Regions from separate parts of the Homo sapiens genome. Here region 1 is linked to region 2. The links are contacts of gene promoters, found by promoter capture Hi-C in human tissues and cell types (Jung and others, 2019). All regions are on one chromosome and are shown on one strand. The core of a region is centred on a gene start or on the middle of the fragment in contact, and the rest is flanking DNA. Distances in the headings are between cores, read along the strand shown.

Evidence for each region. The method cuts DNA at HindIII sites, captures the fragments that hold promoters and counts their contacts. A contact is called where the count stands out against the background at its distance.
Region 1: the fragment with the promoter of PPP1R15B here is called in contact with the fragment with the promoter of CYB5R1 in region 2 in 1 of the 25 tissues and cell types used here (thymus).

Annotation. Positions count from the first base shown.
Region 1 is chr1:204,408,365-204,415,408 of GRCh38, forward strand. PPP1R15B (protein phosphatase 1 regulatory subunit 15B) reads right to left here and starts at 3,453. Exons shown (of 2, transcript NM_032833.5): 1 at 1,128-3,453. The coding sequence starts at 3,047. RefSeq lists enhancers at 2,430-3,264, 2,571-2,720, 2,981-3,680, 3,691-3,740 and a silencer at 3,199-3,645. The HindIII fragment of the contact is 8,124 bases long and covers 1-6,313 here.
Region 2 is chr1:202,962,550-202,969,127 of GRCh38, forward strand. It overlaps CYB5R1 (cytochrome b5 reductase 1), which reads right to left and starts at 4,708. Exons shown (of 9, transcript NM_016243.3): 1 at 4,642-4,708; 2 at 4,200-4,349; 3 at 3,979-4,051; 4 at 3,338-3,444; 5 at 2,822-2,951; 6 at 2,063-2,146; 7 at 1,093-1,178; 8 at 517-616; 9 at 1-150. The coding sequence starts at 4,656. RefSeq lists silencers at 4,616-4,665, 4,736-4,895, 5,512-5,806. The HindIII fragment of the contact is 6,951 bases long and covers 1-6,566 here.

The DNA of each region.
Region 1 (7,044 bases), core at 2,203-4,702, 1.4 Mb after region 2:
CTAAAATTTAATCTTTAACATGACTTATTCTGCCCTAAAGGTAAGACGTAAGATTATCACCATTTTGAGACATTTTCTACCCAGGAATAATTTCAAAGTAGTAAGCTGGCCATGTGGAGCCAAGAGATTATGGTACTGTCCATTTGAAACGCCCCAGTGAGGCAGAATCTGAGGTCAATAATAACTCACCCACTAACTTCTCTCTCCAAGTAACGGTATAGAAAACTAAAAAAACGTTCCCTCTACAATAATAGACACCTTTGAGTTTGGAGAAGAGTTCAATTAATAACTTTAGTTGAATCAACTATAAAGAAAAACAAACCAACTCTAAAGACTCCCAAAATAAGGTTAACCTGACAATGTAATTAAAGCGTAAAATGCTGCATGAAGTTTTAAGACTAGCCTGGGAAAAGGAAGCAACTAGTCAAGATAAACCAAGTAAGTGGCCATCACTGTTTATTATTAATATTAACCTGTAGCTGACCACTGATAACTAGCATTGCATTCCTAAGAAAAGGCAATACCACTTCCTGTACTGGCTTTGACTTTCAATTAAAACCATGTAATGTCAAAACCAGTGAAATTACTATTTAATTTCATGGCCAATTGGACCAGATAAATCTGACTTGCTACTTGATATCATCATCCCTTTGGGTTGTAATGGACAGGAATGAAGACACTCTTGTTATATGCAAAAAAAATATTAAGTATTTGCAGACAACATACATTTAAAATCATTTTAAAACTCTATGGCTGTAACAGGACCTTTTCAATCTCTAGAAAAATTAAATCGTGTACACACAAAGTTTAATAGTCCGTTAAAAAGTGTGAAAAATTGAAGCTTGTAAGGAAACAGTCCAGAACTACCAACCCAAATAAAAATGGCACTTTCCTGCTAACATCTACACACTGGTATGTTCGTTTTGGACAGCAACAATGTGCATTGGGGTGGGGGGTGAGGGACAGGAGGAGAAGGGTCATTTACATATTTCTCAATCCAAGTATATGAATTTAGAGGCCTTCCTCAAAAATACATGCACTCCTAAGCCTCCAAAGTCATGCTGCTATATTTAAGCATATAAAAACAGTCAGAACATATCAGGCATGTTAAAAGACAAGAAACAAACCTTTTTTCTTTTGACATGTGTGTGTCTTCCTCCAGAAAGAACGTCACGCTGTACCGAGTCTGGACATTCACTTTCTTGGCTCCCCAACAGCTGCACCTTACAAGAAAGTAAGGTGTGACACTCAGAAATGGCCACAATGGACTCAGATGGGGTCTTTGAGTCACGACAGCCTTTCTCATTTTCCCCTGATGTTTGAAAAGGAGCCTTAAAATTTAAAGGGTTGTAGGGGTCATCAGAATTACAGAATGAGTTCCACAGTTTGAGACTCTCTGCTTCATCTGCACTAGATTCCCAGTCATCTTCCTCCCCAGAACTATGCTCAGGGGTCTCAGGAAGGCTTCCAGACTGGGAGGAATTCTCTAGATCAGACTTGCCAGACAAATCCTTCTCTGAATCAGAAGGCTCTTCAGGAACAATTCTGGCAGCAGTCTGAATTGTTGCTGTAAAGTTCTGGGGATTATAAGGATCTACACTGCAGAAAGAGTTCCAAAGGTGAAGCCCTTCAGGGTCTTGTTCAAGGTCTGAGTCTGACAGTGAGCTATCACTATCAAAACCATCATCCTCAGCTTCCTCATCCCAATCCTCACCTTCTGGATCAGAACTTGTTTCCAGGTCACTGGATGCACCTCCCAAAATATAATCTATCAGTTTGTTACTACAAGCTGGTCTGGCAGAAATGGGAAGGTCACCTTCTAGGTATGAGTAATCAACTACACTTATTCGGCCCTCTCCAGGCTCCTTTTCCATAGGTATCTCACTAGATGGACAGCCCTCAGAAGGGCTCTCTTCTTCCAAAGCAAGTGGAACCTCTGTAGTTAATAATTCTATTTTTTCTTCAGTGGATTCCTGGGTGTTTCCAGGAATGTCTCCAGCAGCAGGAACAAACTGTGTTGGGTTATCTCTGCAGTGTTTTGGATCCATCCGGAGAAGGCTGTGTTCCTCCTCCAGGCTGTGGTAGCCATTATCCTGGTCAGGGGTGGGTAAATCTTGCCCCTTGCTAGCCTGTTGAAGGAATTCCAGCCGTTTCATGCGAAGATGGTGAATTTCTGGTAGGCCTTCCGTAGAAAGAGGTGGACATCCCTGCCACGAGGCCGGAATGAGTTCTGCACTCAGCGGCTGGGGATGACAATGGTCCTCTCTCAGGCAGCTGCTCTCTGGGGTTAGTGTCTGGAAGCCGACTACCTCGCTATTTCCATCACTGTTCTGATAGCTGACTTCTAGCCTAGGAAAGCAGTCCAGGTAGGAAGGGTTCAGCAAATAGGATACCACACTGAAATTGTCTATGCGTTGAATGTTTAGAGGCCCAGAGGGCGAAGAGCCAAGTTCCCGGTTAGAGTACAGACGGGATTGAAGGCTACTGGGCAACAGCTCCACTCCCCACAGCTGCTGCTCTAAGAGAAAAGCCTGTGCTGCAGGGTCCAAAGCACTTCCCTTGGCCTTAAGCTCCAATTTTAGGTCTGGGGGCGAGTATTGCCAGTGGATCCCCTCCTCTAGCCAATCAAGGGGACTGGTGACCGAGGGGTCTGAGGAGTCGAGCTGCAGCGAACTCAAAGATTTCTGCGCTGTGGGGGCGGCTGGTTTCTCCCGTCCCTTCAGGGCTCTCAGGGCGCTGTAGACTCCAGCAAAATCTAGCCATCTGGTCGGAAACATTCCACCGAAAAGTTGGCTCCAAATTAGCACCTTCTGAAGCAATCCGGGGAGCGGCGCAAGGAGCTGGGAGAGCAGTTTCGTCCAGTAACTGACCCGAGTCTCGGGCTGGGCAGAGGAAAGCAGTGTGGGGTTCCCGGAGTTTTCCGGGCCAAGAGGCGTCGGGAACTTAGAAGAGCCTGCTTGCGATCGCCGAGGGAAAAAGGGTGGCCAGAACCGGAAGCCCGCCCGAGGGCCAAGCCGTTTCCGCGATCCGCCTGTCCCCGGCTCCATCTCCTTTTTCTTGACAGTCTCTCAGGTAGGGCCGCGGCGCTCAGCGGCTGGAGGTCGACGGGATTCGGAGGAAGCCTACAGAGTCTCGGCCTTGCCCAGCGGTGGCGTCGCTGCTCCAGGCCGATCTTCGAGCCAGCAGAAAAGCCACAGAGGGCAGCGAATGCGGCAGCGGGCGGCAGAACACAGGGAAGAACAGCCCGCGCAATAGGCGGCGACTGATGCGACTTCCATCCTGGCGGGGAAGGAGGTTCCCTAGTCGGCTCGACGCTTCAACACCATGGATAGGAGTCCCCCCACGGCCTCGGCGATGGTTTTCCGACTGACAGAGGGTTGAAAAGCCCCTGAGCAACGCGATACCGGAAGGACTGGGTAGGCCGGCTGGTGCGGTGGAAGCGAAGCCCAAAATGGCCGCAGGGCCCGCGCGCCGGCAGGACACCCCCCTAGACGCCGGAAGAGACGCAGGACTGTTGGGCGTCTACGTCCCTAGCGCCGCGCCGCCCAACGTCACTCGCAAAATCCCCGGGGGGCGGGCCTTTCCGCCCACTTCCGTGTGGCCGCCGATTGGTTTTGCCAGATTTCCCTGTCGGCTTCCTTACTCGAGGTAGAGCCGCACGGCAGCGTGAGGTTGCATCAGCCGGGGCGGGGGGGGGGGGGGGGGGGGGGGGGGGAATGCACGCATGCGCAGTCGTTTCTGTGTGGTCTCCTAGGAGACCGCCCCAACAGCCCTCTAGGTTAAAGGTCTTGGGGAGGGGAGGGGTTTTCAAAATAACCCGAGAATTTCCCGGAGGCGTTTTGATGGCCTAATACACACTGACGTGTGTACAGTCATCCCCTCTCATGAAATGGGGATTAGTTCCAGGACCCCGTAGACACCAGAATCCGCAGACGGTCAAGTCCCTTATGTAAAATGGTATAGTGTTTGCATATAACCTGCATACACCTTCCCAGATATTTAAACCATCCCCTAGATTAAGTATAATACCTAATACAATGCAAGTGCTATGGAACTAGTTGTTATACTGTATTTATTTGTATTATGTTTTATTATCTTTATTTTTCCCGAATATTTTCAATCCATGGAAGGTTGAATGCCCCGCGGGCCAACTGTAGGGTTATCGTAGTCTTAGATTTTTATTATTTATTTATTTGAGACAGGGTCTAGCTCTGTCGCCCAGGCTGGAGTGCAGTAGTGCGATCTCGGCTCACTGCAGCCTCAACCTCCTGGGCTCCAGTGAGCCTCCCACCTCAGCCTCCCGAGGAGCTGGGACTACAGGCTCGCACCACCACGCCCAGCTAAATTTTTTTTTTTTTTGAGACGGATTCCCACTCTGTCGCCAGGCTGGAGTGCAGTGGCGCAATCTCGGCTCACTGCAACCTCCGCCTCCCGGGTTCAAGCGATTCTCCTGCCCCAGCCTCCCTAGTAGCTGGTACTACAGGCGTGTGCCACCACGCCCAGTTAATTTTTTGTATTTTTAGTAGAGACAGGGTTTCACCATGTTGGCTAGGATGGTCTCGATCTCCTGACCTTGTGATCCGCCCGCCTCAGCCTCCCAAAGTGCTGGGATTACAGGCGTGAGCCACCGTGCTCGGCCAATTTTTGCATATTTTTATAGAGACAGGGTTTCGTCGTGTTGCCCAGGTTGGTTTCAAACTCAGCTCAAGTGATCTGCCCGCCTCGGCCTCCTAAAGTGCTGGGGTTACAGGCGTGAGCCACTGCGCCCAGCCTGACAGATATTTCAGGGTTCTCCTATTGTTCAGTACTATGTAGACCATCAACCTGAGATCTTATGTAAAAGTTGGGCAGTGCTGCGTACATACATGTCTGGTGTGGGGCAAACTAAACTCACAGAGAAGCAGCTCAGTCCCCAGAACTATTTACTCTCTTTTATGCTTCCAAGCAGGCAACATATTCAATTCATATTTATTAATACTTCCTTAGCAACCAGAACCACAGAATACAACAGCCAAAAAGGAAACATGGACCACTATCCTTTGAAAAAAAAAATGGCTGGTAATTTTAATTGCTGTATTTGATTATCTCTTGTGAGTTTGGTCTTAGTTCATTTCTTTATTTCTGCTAAAACTCTGTAATAGATACCCCTGAAGTCAAGTACCAATTACAGAGGGAGGGTGGCAGTTATGAGCACTAGGGACAGCAGAAAAATCTTTAGGGAGCTGGGAGGAGACCAGCAGCTCCTCCTGCCTTACTGGGCCTGTTCAAGGAACAACCACTTCTTTTTTTCTTTTTTGAGACGAGTCTCGCTCTGTTGCCCAGGATATAGTGCAGTGGTGTGATCTCTGCTCACTGCAACCTCCGCCTTCCTGGGTTCAAACTATTATCCTGCCTCAGCCTCCCTAGTAGCTAGGACTACAGGCACATGCCACCACGCCCGGCTAATTTTTGTATTTTTAGTAGAGACGGAGTTTCACCATGTTAGCCAGGATGGTCTCAATTTCCTGACCTTGTGATCTGCCCGCCTCAGCCTCCCAAAGTGCTGGGATTACAGGCGTGAGCCACCACGTTCGGCACAACCACTTCTTTCTAGGAAGCCAAGAGGACCTCAGTTTCTGTTGTTTATCCTGTATTATTATCCATACCTCTGGAAAATCTCAATCCTATGAACTTCAGAAAAATGTATTAATAATAGAGGTCAGTTTCATAATACAGATCCAAGTAGGCAAATTTGTTACCAGAAGCCTGTTTCTTGTAAAGTGAGGCTAGTAATTCCTCTTTCAATGGATTGGTAAGAAAACTAAGTTTTCTCAGTGCCTAGCCTAGACAGAGTAGGAGCACAAAGATTAGCTAATATTCTTGTGTGGTTCTGCTTTACAGTCTTCAGTTGTTTCCTCATTGCCTGCAGAATAAAGGCTCTATGCAGCCTGCCCTCCCACTGTACTCTTCCAGCCTCCTCTGTCACTTGTCTTCATGCATGTTATATTCTAGGAACATTGGACTTACCTGTACTCCTTGCTTCCTGCCTTTACTCATGCTGTTTCTCAGCCAAGAAAAGCTTCACCTTTCCTGTTACATACCTACTCATCCTTCAAGATCCAATTCAAATGTCAGCTTCTCCTTGAAGCCTTCATTGACCTTTCCAGCCAGAATTAATGGATCCCTCACAGTACTTATATTATTCCGCTCTATTAGAGCACTTAACACATTGCATTACATATACCTGTAAGTATTCTCTCTTGCTGGTCCCTGAATTCCTTGAGGGCTGTATCCAACTATCTAGAAAAGTGGTTCCCAAAGTATGGTCTGGGCACCCCTGGGGATCCTCCTTTGAAACCCTTTCAGAGGGTCCTTAAGGCCAAAAATATTTCCATAATAATTCTCAGCTTTTTTAACTCTCATTTTCTCATGTATGTACAGTGAAGTCTTCTGGAAGATACATGGTGTGTGAACTGTCAACAGAATGAATGCAAAAGCAGATAGATACGAGATTCTAGCTGTTTTATATTAAGCCAGATACTAAAGACATTTGGAAAAAATGTAAGACAATGCCACTTTTCTCACTAAGCTTTTTATGTTTTGAAAAATAATTGAACATTACCAGCCTGGGCAACATGGCAAAACCCTGTCTCTACAAAACATACAAAAATTAGCCAGGCATGACGGTGCACGCCTGTGGTCCCAGCTACTCAGGAGGCTGAGGTGGGAGGATTGCTCAAGCCTGGGAGGCAGAGGTTGCAGTGAGCCAAGATTGTGCCACTGCACTCCATCCTGGGCAACAGAGTGAGATCCTGCCTCAAAAAAAAAAAAAAAATTAACATGTAATTGGTTATTTTTAAATGAATTTTAAAATTTTATTGTATTTTTCATTAAAGACAGAGTTTCATATGTTGCCCAGGCTGGAGTGCAGTGCGTATTCACAGGGGCAATCACAGCACACTATGGCCTTGAACTCCTGGGCTCAAGCAATCCTCCTGCTTCAGCCTCCCAAGTAGCTGGAACGACAGGTGCACACCACCACACCCAGCCTAAATGAACATTTTT
Region 2 (6,578 bases), core at 3,458-5,957:
GTGAGTAGCCCAGTTTGTCCAAGTTGGGATGGCAGGCCAGCTGCACCATTGGGGGTGGCCCACAAAGCAGTACCAGCACATCATCCCCTGGAGCGGGCAGGTGTTCCCGGATCATGTCGGCAGTCACAAAGCCCTTGCTGTAGGCCCAATCTGAAGTATGGGGAGAAGAAAGTACTTAATACTCCAGATACATGCTGGCAAGGGGGTGTGGTGCCATGAGACTGGGGAGGGCCCTGAAAGGCTCTGGAGAAAGTGTCAAGTGGTAGCAGCAGCTGGGAATGGGTATACTCAGCCTGCCTCAAGCTGAGCCTTAGCAGCACCGCCATCCCTGTCACCCACCTGGTAAACAGGAACCCAAAGGAAAGGGACCAGGAGATCACTGTGTCTGTGCACTCAGACTTCCGAGTTGGCAGTGTGAGGCAAGGTTGATTTCAATGAAGCCAGAATTCACAAAGGGGCAAGGCTTTGATTTTGACGATGAGGGGATAGTGGGATGTCCAGAAATGGGAAGGATACCTTTTGGGGGATGATCCAGAGTGAACCAGAGCTTAAAGCGATTGGGATAGCGGGCCTGCAGTTCCTCTAAGTCCTCCCGCAAGATGATATCCTTTTCTGTCTGAAATGCAAAGGGGAAGGAAAGTCTTTAGGAGTCTTCTCAGGCCCACATAAAAAGTTTTCTGCTATACAACTTTCCAACTAAGAAAAAGAATGTTAAGGGAAAGCAAAAGTTCTAGGAAATAAGCAAGACTTGCAGTGCTTTTAGGGAGTTAGGATGAGGAGAAGAGGGGAACAGCCTTTATCTACACATTATGAAGGAACAAAGATGAATATTTAACCAAGAAGATCTAAGTTTCTGTGCTCCAGACTAGATACCTTAAAAGTTTTCTTCTTTCCTTGGGGACCAGGGAAGGAATTTGATTCAGTGCTCTGTCCTTTTCCTCCTTATTGAAAGAGGACCCTGTGCCTTACAGAGGGGACCTTGGGCAGAGGCTAAAACAGGGCACTGGGCCAGTTCTGCCCATCCATACCACGTCTCTCAGCCCTACCCACACAGCAACTTTGAAGTCTTAGGGTGGAGGAAAACAAACCAACCTGGTTGGCAAAAAGCAGAAAGCACTGGGTTGGATCTTCAGGGACTTTCAGGATGGCCCGGATCAGCTGTAGCATTGGGGTGATTCCTGCATGAAGATACCCCACAGTGAAATGTAGTGGCCACACTCTCTGCCCTGTCCTGGCTCCTTAGCTGACCAGCCCTTTCATCTTCATTCTGCTCATTCACCACTCCACTCCATTTTCCTTTAGCATTCTCATCCTCTAAACTCTTCCTGCATATTCTCCAACATCTGTATTTCCGGGCACCCTTCAAATTCATCTAAGTTCATATTGTAGAAATCTTTCTTAGGAACTAATCTAAGACTCTTCTGAAAGTCCTTTGGAGGCTAGGACTCCAGTGTCACAAATGACTACAAGTACCTCCGGATTCAATGATGAGGGTTCTAGAACACTGTATTTGCAGAGGTTAAGTGCATGTACTTAGGCACTAGGCAGAGCCAAATACTAATTTTGCTCCAGGCCATTACCAGTGAAATAACCCTGTGGAAATCATTTAGCCTCTCTGGAACCCCATTGTCTCTCTGTAAAAGGAAAAGGCTAGTACCTACTTCATAGATACCTATATATGTGTCTAATTTTTGTGTCTAATATATAGTAGTGTATTAGACTACACAGTGTCTAATGCACAGTAGTGTCCAATGCTAATTTTCTTTCTTCCTAGCTAGTCATTCCTAGCTGCTTCTCTCTTCTCTCACCTAAAACTATTAGATCCATTCAAAATGAGGAAAGCTCATTTAATTTGTTTCTCTAATTCCATCAGTTAAAATTTTTTTTGGTTTCTACCTGCTTATGATTTTGTTTTTCAGATACTAGGGAGTTCTAAGCATTGCTGGAAATCCCCTGATGAACAACAGCTTGGCTATGGTTACCAGTCTTCAGAGGGTCACCTAGGAATTTGCATGGCAACAGTCAACAATGGTGGGAGAGAAAGGCCCTCAGTGTAATGCACCTGTCCCGCCGGCAATCATTCCCAGTTTCTTCGCCACTCGGGGTTCTGGTGGAGATTTCTTGTTGGGCTGAATGTTAAAATGCCCTGAGAGGTCAGGTGAAGAGAGCAGTGGAAGAATAAAGTCAATACAGCGAACTTAGAAAACAAATGCAGAGTTGAAAATATGCCTGAGGCCAGTTGAGCAGCTGCTATGACATCTGATCCTGGAGCTTGGGTGGAAGCTTGAGTTGAGCCAGCCCTGACAATAATATAGTTGAGGGACAATGGGGCCAGGGCTATCTGTGAGTCAGTTCAGCGCCACACAATGTATCAGCTGCTTCTGGCAAAGTGTCACTCCCTGGTGAAGGAGACAGGCACAGAGCCAGGTGTGAATCTATTTTCCCAAGTGGCACACAGCAGCTCCAGGGACTTGCTAATGCACCCAGCTGTTCCCATGGGAAGGGCTGAAAGCTATCTCTGGCTCACTCCACAGCTCACCCAGGGGGGCAAATTTTTGAAGGTGGGGAAGAGGGGCACATGTTTGCTTTAGTAATCTCCACAGCTGCCATGGCTAGGGAATTCAAGTGGAGGAGGAACTGCTTCCTGTGGCAAATGGGGCTGAGAAACATGCCTTTCTATTGTATCAGCGCTATGTTTAGAAGGAAGGGCGGCCCTGGCCCTTACGTGCATACACATGTGTACACACAGCCATACTGTGCCAAGAGGACTATGGGAACTGATAAAGTGGGAGACAGGCTCAAGGAGAAGACAGGTCATTACCTTTTCCAGTGTAAGTGAGCAACCCGCTTGGCCCCCGAAACTCCACCACATCCCCAACCTTCAGGCTATCCAGGTACTGAGACATCTTCCCTCCCTCAGGAAATTTGGGGTGCACACCCTTCAGGTAGACCTTACAAGACAGAGAGAAAAATACCTTATTTGGAATGTCACTGGTTTCTGAGCCCCATGTTGACTAAACCTCCCTGAGGCTGGGGCAGGGATCAGATATGTGCTATCTTTTCCCCGTCTACATACTTTCTTTCTTTCTTTTTTTTTTTTGAGTCAGAGTTTTGCTCTTGCTGCCCAGGCTTGAGTGCAGTGGCGCAATCTTGGCTCACTGCAACCTCCGCCTCCTGGGTTCAAGTGAGTCTCCTGCCTCAGTCTCCTGAGTAGCTCATACTTTCTTCACATCCACAGAGTACATACCATTTCCTGCTGTCAGGCAAATCTTAGAAATTTCTACAAATCCCAGAAAGAATGGGTAAGCAGCCCCTGGGTCCCTTCCTAGCCCCTTACCTTGATGACAAGATCCACATAGCCTTGATCCTCATCACTGGTGACAGGAGTGTATGGCCTGATGACCAGGCTGCCATCAATTCGGGTGGAGAGGTAGATATGTTTGCCTGGGGACCGTGCAGAGAGCTACATAAGGGTTGTCTGTGATGTGCTGCATCCCTCAAAATACTCAAAGAGATTTGAGAGAACAAGATGTCTTGCTTCCTGCTGTGGTCCCAAGGAGCTACAAGGCAGGGAAGATTTGCCCCATTGAGCCCTCAGTTGGATCTCTTATAAGCGCCCAGTTGAGGAAACACTTATTTCCAGCGTTTCCTGCCAGTTACTGCCAGGACCTTGACAGATGAGCCAAAAGGGTCTGGGCAATGGGAAAAAGTTAGTAGTGCTTGCTCAGAGGGAGTAATTAGCAAATCCTGCAGGGAAGAGGCAAGACTGTTGAGTGTTAAAGCTGGATGGGGGTCATGGAAGCCACACTCTAGAGGGGCCCAGTGGCACCTCACAGCTTGGAGGATGCAGAGCCAAGTGGGGGAAGGGGAATGGTGTGTGGAGCAAACCGGTTGAAGCAGCGTGTTTCATGAGATCCCAGGAGGGGAGTCACCTTCTGAGGATACCAGGGAAAGGAGCCCATTCCACACTTTCCTTACCCACAGGCAGCCCCAGAGTGTGGTGGGCGGTGGGCAGGGCAAAGCGGAACCTCTTGGTGTTGTGGCTCACAGTCTGGAGGGTGGAGGACACAAGTGTTTCACCAAGCGCGCCTGGCGCTGCCACGTCCCTTGGACATCCCAACCACCGTGGGTGCTGTACCCTCCATGCCAGGAGCACTCTGGTCCCCTCCTTCACCCTGGCCCTTTCTTCCCCAACTTACCGTCTTGTCTAGCAGTCGTAGCAGGTACTTTTCATTGGGGTCCAGGAGAGTGACCTGAGGCCGGCGGGACCTCCGAACCAAGTAGGAGCCCACAGCCAGGCCGAGCAGAGTGACCAGCCCCACCCCCAGGGAGGCCAGCAGGACGGGGCTCTGTGGGTAGAGGAGGCAGCGTGACCGCCAGGCTGGGTAAGAGCCCGGGGCTTGGGTGGTGACCGTCCCAGGGGTGGCGATCCCGAGCTCCAGCGCGGAGGCATGCCAAGGGCAGAGGGGTAACCTGGCGGAGTCCCGAGCCCGGATGTGCGGGATCGGGACCCCAGCATCCACGGTGGGCCCAGAGCCCTGCGGGGCGGGGTCGGCAGCGACAGCCCCTGGTCCGGAGCTGAGTGGCCAGAACCAGATGGGGAGGGGTCCCCCAGTGGAGGATACTGAATGAGGGTCTTACCGTCTGGATCCCCATGACGGAGCGCCTTTTCCTCCACCACCTGACAAGCCGACAGATCCCACAATGCGCCGCGGGGCGGGTCGGAGGGCGGGGCAGGCCGGGGGCGGGGCCGGGCAGGAGGCAGGACCTCGCGGCTGGGGGGGCAGGAGGCGGGGCCTGGCGGGGGGGGGGGGGGGTGTCTGTCGGGGGCGGGGCCTAGCAGGAGGTGGCGGCGGCGGGGCCTTTTGGGGGCGGGGTCCGGCAGAGGCGGGGCTGGGCCCCTCTGCGCGCCACCCTTTCCCTCCGCTACTCGGTGGCTCAGGGTCTCCGGTGCTTATTCAATACTTTTTTTTTTTTTTTTGAGTCGGAGCCTCGCTCTGTCGCCCAGGCTGGAGTGCAGTGGCGCGATCTCGGTTACTGCAACCTCCGCCTCCCAGTTTCAAGTGGTTCTCCTGGCTCCGCCTCCCGAGTATCTGGGACTACTGGCGTGCGCCACCACGCCCGGCTAATTTTTTTTTTGTATTTTTAGTACAGACTGGGTTTCACCGTGTTGGTCAGGGTGGTCTCGAGCTCCAGGGCTCAAATAATCTACCCGCTTCGGCCTCCCAACGTGTTGGGATTACAGGCGTGAGCCATCGCGCCCGGCCCCAAGATCTTTTAAGACCGCAGCTCCAGCCTCTCCTCCCAGCGAGGTGGTCCCTGCCACTTCGACCCGCTTATATCCGAACTGGATGGGAGTTCTGCCTAAGGTAGAACCACGCTAAATTGGGGGATTGGAAATCTCTTGAGTCTGCGGGTGCTGAGCGGAGAGTGTAACGATGAACCAGAGACAGGCTCAAAGTAGAGCAGAAGGGCCTGAAGTTAATCATTGTGCAGTCACCTTAGTTTTTCAACCGGCTGAATTGCAGCAAGAGAATGGAACAGCCCAGAGGAGTCTCTTACAGGAGTGAACAGTGGCATGGCAACTTCATTTCCTTTTGACAAAAGACTGATTTTGTTTACAGCGCCAAGCCGTCAGCCTATCAGGATGATTCAGGAGCTTCCTTTGGTTTCAAAGACCAAGCTTCACATCCTGATTTGGGTTCTTGTGCCCTTAGGGTCAAAGAAGTGGGCTTTGGAGGCAGAGTGTACAGAATAAGAATCTTGCCTCTAGCACTTATTGGCTCTGTGACCTTAGATAGCTTACTCAACCTGAGTTTCTTCATCTACAGATGGATATAAGATGGATATCTACAGATGGATATATATTATTATCTACAGATAGATTGTATCTAGTTCATAGCTTTGGTGTGAGGCTTCAGTGAGATATGTTAACGTGCTTAGTGTAGTGCCTGTCATAAAGCAAAATATTCAACAGTTGGCAGCTACTATTATAACTTAAAAGACAGCACAGAGGGTCAGCTATGGTTTTAGGAATGAGCTCTGCCTGGGGCACAAGCATGGGACAGGAGGAGGCAGGAAAAAACATCAGGAGCCGCTGGAGCTACAGATTTCCCAAGATGACCATTCTTTCTCATACATGAGTTTCTCAACTAGAATGACATTTGCTCTTTGATATACCGTGATGGATGAGATCTCTGCAGATGTCAGTGTCAACATCTTAAACTAATACCATCAGGGCAGCAGGGACATTAGAGCCCCCAGTTTTCAGTTGTATTTGGTGAACTCTGTGAATGATCCAAGAGATACTTAGTTTTCCTTTTCCTCTCCACTGGCTGAAAATGTTCCTAAGACCCCAGTACATGTTCCTCTGAATTTTTTAAGCAGCCTGCACACTGACTTGAGGGAAGTGAGTGCACCAGATCATGGTGACATGCCAATCCATGCAGAGAGGGTTGAAAAGGGGAAGGAAGGGACCCTTCCTCTTTTCTGTTCCGAGAGAATGAGGCGATTATGTTCCGGTGCTTCTGACATCCCCACTGCTGGCTTGGTTAAGAAGCCACACTACTGATCCTTGC